Linked DNA regions of Homo sapiens: regions 1 and 2 are each linked to region 3. Evidence: promoter capture Hi-C in 16 types of primary human blood cells and fetal thymus (Javierre and others, 2016). All regions are on one chromosome and are shown on one strand. The core of a region is centred on a gene start or on the middle of the fragment in contact, and the rest is flanking DNA. Distances in the headings are between cores, read along the strand shown.

Evidence for each region. Contacts are between HindIII fragments. The CHiCAGO score rates a contact against its expected background, and 5 or more counts as called.
Region 1: a fragment that was not itself captured here is called in contact with the fragment with the promoter of RWDD3 in region 3 in 2 of 17 cell types (total CD4 T cells and activated CD4 T cells); the score reaches 7.1 in total CD4 T cells.
Region 2: a fragment that was not itself captured here is called in contact with the fragment with the promoter of RWDD3 in region 3 in 2 of 17 cell types (total CD4 T cells and non-activated CD4 T cells); the score reaches 7.5 in total CD4 T cells.

What each region holds. Positions count from the first base shown.
Region 1 is chr1:86,700,920-86,703,803 of GRCh38, forward strand. It overlaps CLCA4-AS1 (CLCA4 antisense RNA 1), which reads right to left. Exons shown (of 5, transcript NR_135837.1): 1 at 2,688-2,884. Among named protein-coding and RNA genes, the nearest start is that of CLCA4-AS1, 2.1 kb to the right of the region's middle. RefSeq lists an enhancer at 2,861-2,884. The HindIII fragment of the contact is 2,416 bases long and covers 427-2,842 here.
Region 2 is chr1:103,518,341-103,521,040 of GRCh38, forward strand. All of the region lies in intron 1 of RNPC3-DT (RNPC3 divergent transcript), which reads right to left. Among named protein-coding and RNA genes, the nearest start is that of RNPC3-DT, 5.8 kb to the right of the region's middle. The HindIII fragment of the contact is 5,087 bases long and covers 1-2,700 here.
Region 3 is chr1:95,232,937-95,235,636 of GRCh38, forward strand. RWDD3 (RWD domain containing 3) reads left to right here and starts at 1,274. Exons shown (of 4, transcript NM_015485.5): 1 at 1,274-1,379. The coding sequence starts at 1,295. The region is part of intron 7 of TLCD4-RWDD3 (TLCD4-RWDD3 readthrough); the gene reads left to right. It overlaps RWDD3-DT (RWDD3 divergent transcript), which reads right to left and starts at 1,046. Exons shown (of 4, transcript NR_125949.1): 1 at 764-1,046. RefSeq lists silencers at 1,015-1,344, 1,555-1,734. The HindIII fragment of the contact is 4,366 bases long and covers 269-2,700 here.

The DNA of each region.
Region 1 (2,884 bases), core at 385-2,884, 8.5 Mb before region 3:
TCAGCTCACTGCAACCTCCTCGGTTTAAGTGATTCTCCTGCCTCAGCCTCCCGAGTACCTGGGATTACAAGCACCCACCACCACACCCGGCTAATTTTTGTATTTTTAGTAGAGACAGGGTTTCACCATGTTGGCCAGGCTGGTCTTGAACTCCTGACCTCAAGTTATCCACCCACCTCAGCCTCCCAAAGTGCTGGGATTATAGGCATGAGCCACCGCGCCTGGCCTTTATAATTTTTAAAAATACACGGTAACTTGTGATAAGACCTTGGGCCCTTGGTGCAAACAGAAATCAGTTAACTGTGAGCACACCCTGTCCCCCAACTTCATGACCTCACACACACACATAAGTTAAAAACCCATGAAATTCTGTACCCTCAATGAAAGGGTAGACTAGATAGAAGCTTTTCTTCTGGCATAGTAAGAAGCTTTTCTGTCAAGGCACAAGCTCTGAAAGAGAAAAAAACAAGGAAGATCTCTCTCCCTTGAGAATTTGAATCATAGTTTGTACTCCCACAAATCTGGGTTCAAATTTATAATATCTGAATGATCTTAGAACTTCTAAGCCAAGAAAGAAATTCATGTAAAAATTGCTCACTAGCCAGTGATAACCTTAGGGGTCTCTGACAGAAGAAACATTTTTTTCTGTATCACTAAAAATGAGCCATAAAAAAAAAAGCTAAAAGGAATCAATGTACAAAGCAAAAGGAATCAATCCACAAACAAAAAGGTCATCAAATACACAAATAGAAGTATTAGACCCCTAAATGCAAAAGGATTTATCTATATGATATCATTTATGCAGTTTAAAAATATAACATAGTAGTACCATTCATAGATACATATAAATTCAGTGAAAGTACAAAAACATAACAGATATTAATCATACCAATTTAAAAATAGTGGCTAACTCTGGGGAAGGAATAGTGTCAAGAAAAGCCTGAATAATTGATCCAGACTGAAGGAGAATTGAGCAACAAGCTAACTGGATGCAGCACATGATCTTTCTTGGCTGGGACGTTTTTGCTGTAAAGACATTGGAATAATTGGCAAAGTTTGAGTGGGGTTTCTAGGCAAAGGGTACACAGAAGTTTTTGTACTATTCTTGCAACAGTTTTCTTAGTTTGTAAATTGTTTCAAGTTAAAAAATTTGTTTTTAAAAAGAGGATGAAAATGAAAAATAGGAAACAGTTTCAGAGAAGAAATTGCCAGGATAGACCAATTGGTGGTGGGAAATAAGAGGAAATAATCAAAGGGGACTCAGATTTCTGGCTTAGGTGATTTGGTGTGTATGATTCAATTTATCAATGTAGGAAACCCAAGAAAAGAAGAATTTTCAGGAAAAGCAAACTATAACAGACTTGCCACTGGAAATATTGAATCTATGGATAAATAGTTGGAAATTTAGGCTGGGGGTGATGGTGTCACAAAAGAGCTTAGCACTGTAAACATCTTGATTTGATTACTTTTTTCACTTACTAAATCATTTGGGAATTCACTATGTTGCCTGTGTAAACCATAAAATATATAAAAATAAATAGGAAACGGACACTGCCCTTAAGGGACTGATATCTGGTAAGAGAAGTAGAATCAGTCTGTAGGCAAAGGGTAGAGACTGATGGAGCAAGTTCTAGAGGGTGACAAATTAGTTCTCAACCTTGGTCACACATTAAGAACACCTAGAGGAACTCCTAAAACATCCCAATGCCCAGTCCACACTCTGGGACTGGATCCAGGCATCAGTGGTTGCTTAAACTCTCCAGGTGATGCTGATGTGCAGCCAAGATTAAGGGAGCAGTGGCTCTACTCAGAACACCTGAGACACCTATTCCTTTGAAACATTTGGCAATGATGCAGGAAAGAGTGTGGAGAGAACAGGAGGTGGAAATAAGGAAATTTGGTTGAAGAGGCTTCTGCCAAACAGAGTGATGATTTATATTTTCTCTGTAAAGAAAGCGAATCAGCTGGGTGCGGTGGCTCACACCTGTCATCCCAGCACTTTGGGAGGCTGTGGCAGGCGGATCACTTGAGGCCAGGAGTTCGAGACCAGCCTGGCCCACATGGTGAAACTCTGTCTCTACTAAAGATATAAAAAATTAGCCGGGCGTGGTGATGCATGCTTGTAATCCCAGCTACTTGGAAGGCTGAGGCAGGAGAATCCTTGAACCCAGGAGGCAGAGGTTGCAGTGAGCTGAGATCACACCATTGCACTCCAGCCTGGGTGACACAGCAAAACTCTGTCTCAAAAAAAAAAGTGTCAAAGGCTAAGAATAAGGATATATGAAAATAAGGTAAGTCTTTTATGGAGAATGGGGAAACAGGATTACAGCTACAGAGGGTGCAAAAGAAAGAAGTAACATTGTTGTTTTCCCAAGACTGGGAAGATTGAAACACTTGAGGATGAGGATTCAGGGACACCACTGTGTCCACCATTAAAGAATTTCCCCTTTAATGGTGGACACGGTGGTGTGATCCTTTTGTAGAGACGAGCATAGGTTATGGCAAATATACCTACTTTAAAAACAGTGCTCTGGGAAGAGAGTAAGTGCTTTTCCACATAAAGATCTAAAATAGACAATAAATGAGAAATAGGGTTTTTTATTATATATTCATTTTTCCATATTTCTGGAAAATGAAACAGACATGGAGTATTTCAAAGCTGGGAGAGATCATTATATTGGAGTTACCTTAGAAAGAGGGGGCTGTTTCTGCCACCACAACAAAGAATGAAACAACACAAATATTTACGTTTTCTTCTTGTCCTCATAATGCTTTTACTGCACTCGTCTTTCAACCTTTAACATCTACTGCATCTGTGACTGTTGTTTCAGTAAAACACGGAAGCTTGAATGTAAGCTCATTTCATTGCCTGCTGCACAACCAC
Region 2 (2,700 bases), core at 81-2,580, 8.3 Mb after region 3:
TTGTGGGGTCTAATTGGCATTCCCATTACCAATAGTAAGGTTAAACACCTTTCCATATGTTAATGGGCCATTCAGGTTTCCTTTTTGTAAAATCACCTGTTTATATTCTTTAAACACATTTTTCTATTAATTTGTCTTTCTTTTTCCAATTTTTTGGTACCAGCTGTATTTTCTGACGTTTTTACGTAAGAGAAGATAATCTAGCATTGTCACATTACAGAAAAACAACTACTTATGACAGTACCATTTATCAGGTGAAACATTTTCTCTAGGCATCTTCTGAAATGTTTAGTACATTTTAATTTTTTGATTGACTAATGTATTAGTCTGTTTTCATGCTGCTGATAAAGACATACCTGATACTGGGAAGAAAAAGAGGTTTAATGGACTTACAGTTCCACATAGCTGGGGAGGCTCCACAATCATAGTGGAAAGCAAGGAGCAGGTCACATCTTACATGAATAGCAGTAGCCAAAGCGAGAGTGCTAGTGCAGGGAAACTTTTTTAAAAACCATCAGATCTCATGAGACTTATTCACTATCACAAGAACAGCATGGGAAAGACTCGCCTCCATGATTCCTTTACCTCCCACCGGGTTCCTCTCACAAAATGTGGGAATTGTGGGAGTTACAATTCAAGATGAGATTTGGGTGAGGACACAGACAAACCATATCAACTAATACTTAAATGTATAGGTTTATATTAAGAAAAATAGCCTTCCAGGTTGCATACATTAAAAAAAATGTGCCATCCAAATGGATTCCAAATTGTAAATGGAGTTAAGAAAGTATTTTAGAACAGGAATATTTTTCGGGTGCTATTTCCCTATCTTCTCTAGATTCCATCCCAGAACAGAAGACATAAGCAAGCTATACCCCATAAGAAAAGGCTAATTACCCCTGCAATAGCCAAAAGTTCACATAAATCCTGCCTCTGTTCATTTGTTATTTAAAGGCAGAGACTAAGTCTACAAATAACTATGTGTGAGATCCACACATAATCTAATCTATCAATAAATAACAAAAATAATATTGACATTTTAACTTTCTGATCATTTTGCATAGAAATCTTTAGACAGGTTTCCTAAAGTCATCATGCAAACCACTGAATATGTAATCCCTGGTTGTCAGCAGTGTTTTTTATTTTCTTGATAATAACATTAATTTATTCACTGATAAATGTTTTAAAACATATGTCAAATATTCACTAATATATATTTTAACATTCAATGATCATTAATCTATTTGTAAGGTACTATGTTAATGCTTGGAAGATATACAGACGAATATAGAAATTCCTGTCTTCAAGGAGCTTATTAGTAATAATGAAATTATGTACATAATTATTTATAATAAAATATATTTATGATAATTTTATAACAGAGGTGAAAAGTTCTACAATAACAAATGGGATGAAGACATGAATTCTACCTTGGGAAAAAAGAAAAGACTTTGATGATGTTTGTTTTAAGTTACTAAGTAATTGGATGGCTTATTACACAGTGACAACCAAAACACTGAAAAATCTAGTGTTCAGGTTTTTTGTTGTTGTTGTTGTTATTGTTGTTTTTGTTTCCTTTGCCAGTATGGGAAGAGAATAGAGGAGGCAGAGATGGTGTTGACTGACAATGAAGAATTTAATGAGAAAGTCATATGTAAGCATCTGAAGAAAGTCAGGGAGCTAAGCATGCAGATATCTGTAGGAACAGCATCCCTGAAAGAGAGAATGGTAAAGGCAAAGGTCTTAGTTATGGGTCTGAAGTGTTCAAGCACAGCCAGAAGGTCAGTGTATTTATAGCAGAGGGAAAGAAGAGGGGAAGAATAGATGAAGTCATAAAAATAATATACTGGAGGAGTTAGATCATGTAAATTCTCACAGATCAAAATAACTTCAGCATTTACTCTAAGTGAGGGGGAAAGCTACTGCAGAGTTTTGAAGATTTAACAGAATCACTCTAGCTGCTGTGATAAAAATATATTGAAGAAGCAATATATTTTTAATCATGTTAAAATGGACTTTTCATGGTAAAAACTAGTCCTAAGCTATCAATACCTTTAAGAGAAAAAAGTTATTTACTACTTATGCAAAGTTTGGTGGGAGGGAAGTTATTCTGTAGGGGAGCTGTCATTGATGTGGTGAGTTGGTACTCTAGGCTATGTTTAGCTTGAGGTTCTATCACCTCAATATGTGGCCTACATGATCACTGTTTTCATACCCAATCTTCCATGCAATACTCTGGAATTGACACATGTTGCTTTCATTAACACCCCATCTACCAAAATGAATCACATAGTCCCAACTAACAACAAGAGAGTTGGGAAATGGAAAGGAATATATGAAATAATTGTTGAGTCTTACTGTGTCGTCCAGACAGAAAGGGCAAAAGTAGGAGACTAGCCATGAGGCTATGACAATATTCCAGATAGATCATGGCTGCTTGGACAAGGATGGTAGAAACAGTGGGAACAGTGAAAAATAGTCAAATTTTGAATATAATTTGAAGGTAAGATAAAGGGAATTTGCTGAATGTCAAGGCATGAGATATAAAAGATATAAAGGAGTCACAGGTAACTGAGATGGGAAAAACTGAAAGAAAAGTTTTGAATACTATCAAGAGCTCAGTTTTAGGCCTGTTAGTTTTGAGATGCTTATTACACAACATTGAGAAAATGTCAAGTAAGCAGTTCAATATATGGATTG
Region 3 (2,700 bases), core at 24-2,523:
CATGAAATGTGATTTCTCATACAAACAAAAGTTGTGAGAACTCCATGAGCAAGACCAGCTGCTTGTGGGGACTGCCAAATTTTAAACTGTTATTTGAACAGCAAAAAGACCAGGCAAACATCCGAGAGACAGACCTAACTGCAGATAAGTCTTGTAATCTTGTTCACTATAGTCAAAACAGAATGGATTGCTTATTCTGTTACCCTATTGGTATTGCTCACATTTTAAAATTTAGGTGCTGGGCTCAAGAATGATAATTTTATTATTAAGCTTCAAGAGTCACATTGTATTGTATGCATTGAATATCACGAAATCGAAAACACTGAAAAGCTAGCGTTTACATTCTTGGATCATACCCCCAAAGGCCAAGGATTCCCACTGGCCGCTTGCAGCAGGGCTGTCTCCTGTGAAGGCAAGAGACAAACGAGGAGCGTTATGACACTTTGCTCCCAGGACTTTGGCGCACAGTTCCCATGAGTCCAGGTCCGTCCAGTCAACATCCTGAAGCCAGGACTGGCAGGTCCTGACCCTCCCTTTTTGCACCCGTAAGGGGAAGGGCCCGGGAATCTGGACCTTGTCTAGAGTCCCGGCGCCAGTACCAGTTCGGAGGGCATCCTGGAGGTTGTTACTAACCCGAGCCTCTTCCAGGCTTCCCAGGCACCAGGGTTGCTAACAGCTCCACGGGGGCGAATAATTTTGTTTATTTTGTTAACTGTGGTTATCTCCAACACTCAGTTCAGACCTGAGCCGGGCAAAGTCTCACCTTGTCTCCTGGTCACTTCCCTGCTTGTTTGTTTCTTCCTAACTCCCAAGTGTCTTTCGCCCAGTTCATCCCCACCTCAGCAGCCCAAGGCTCGGCGGGGACGGTCGGGGTTCGAAGCCTGCAGCTAAACTTAGAGGGTTCAGGCTTTGCTGGGAGGCCTCCCTGTGCTCAGAAGAGCCGGGGGTAAGCTGGGCGGTCGCCTTGGGTGCAGACAGAGGCGCAGGGCCTCGGCCTCCAAGAAAATTCCCAAACCGAGAGGCTGAGCTTCGCGTCTGTAGTTACTGAGCAGGAGCTTCTGGGCGGAACTTCTAAGGGCCCCGCCCGCCCCGTCTGCCCTGACCCTCGCCCGGACTCGCCTCGCCCACGTCCCGTTTCGCTTCGCCCCAGCTCCGTCTCGCCCCGCCCCCGTCCCGCCCGGTTGCGGAGGCGCGGGGCGCCCCCGGGTGGCCGCGGGCAGTGCTGCTCCTGGCCGGTGGAGGCGGCGGCTGCGGCAGCGGAAGGGGAAGCGCTGAGGCGGTGGGGCCCACAGCCATGGCGGAGCCTGTGCAGGAGGAGCTCTCGGTCCTGGCCGCGATTTTCTGCAGGCCCCACGAGTGGGAGGTGCTGAGCCGCTCAGGTGACTACCCGCGCGCGGGAGGGACAGGGCGCCCTCAGGGGCCACCCGCGTTCGCTTTGCGTCTCCTCCCCACCACGGAGCCTGGGCACCCCGCCTGGGCCCACGTATGGGGACCGGGTTAGTTGAATGATGGAATGACACGCCCGGAGGCCGGAGTGGTGTCGCAGCGGGCGGGAGTGTGAGGCGACCCCAGAAACACTAAGAGAGCGGCGCGGCCCACTGGGGCCTCTGCCGCCGGTCCCGCTCCCGGAGCCGGGGGCCCCTGCGTGCGCACCCCCAGGCCCTCCCCCAGCCTCCCACCCCTCAGATCTCACCCTATAAAGAAGCCTGTGCTGACGCCCCCTCGTTGTTCTGTGTCCTTCCTAAGCACTATGCCCTAGGCCCCCCCGAGAGCACTCCCCGGTTCTAACTCTACACGGGTATTTGTAGGTCTTAAGTTGCAGGAGGGCAGGGTCTGTTTGGTAATGACTCCAGGCACCTGGTAGGTAGTAGGTAAATGTTTGTTGACTGAACTTTTTCATTTATCCAGTGCTCAACCTCAACTTTATCTGCATTCTATTTCCAAGTTGATTGCTTTTCTGATACTTTTTTTTTTTTAGGTGGAGTCTCTCTTGTTGCCCTGGCTGGAGTGCAGTGGATCCATCTGGACTCACTGCAGCCTCCGCCTCCCGAGTAGCTGGGATCACAGGCGCGTGCCACCATGCCTGGCTGAATTTTATTTATTTTATTTTATTTATTTTTTATTTTTTAAGACGGAGTCTTGCTTTGTCGCCTAGGCTGGAGTGCAGTGGCGCGATCTCGGGTCACTGCAACCTCCGCCTCCCGGGTTCACGCCATTCTCCTGCCTCAGCCTCCCGAGTAGCTGGGACTACAGGCGCCCACCACCACGCCCGGCTAATTTTTTGTATTTTTTTTTTTAGTAGAGACAGGGTTTCACCGTGTTAGCCAGGATGGTCTCGATCTCCGGACCTCGTGGTCCGCCCGCCTCGGCCTCCGAAAGTGCTGGGATTACAGGCGTGAGCCACTGCGCCCGGCCTTTTTTTTTTTTTTTTTTTTTTTTTGAGACAGAGTCTTGTTCTGTCCCCCAGGCTGGAGTGCAGTGGCGCGATCTCGGCTCACTGCAAGCTCCACCTCCTGGGTTCACACCATTCTCCTGCCTCAGCCTCCCGAGTAGCTGGCACTACAGGCGCCTGCCACCATGACTGGCTAATTTTTTGTATTTTTAGTAGAGACGGGGTTTCACCATGTTGGCCAGGCTGGTCTCAATCTCCTGACCTCGTGATCCGCGCGTCTCGGCCTCCCAAGGTGCTGGGATTACAGG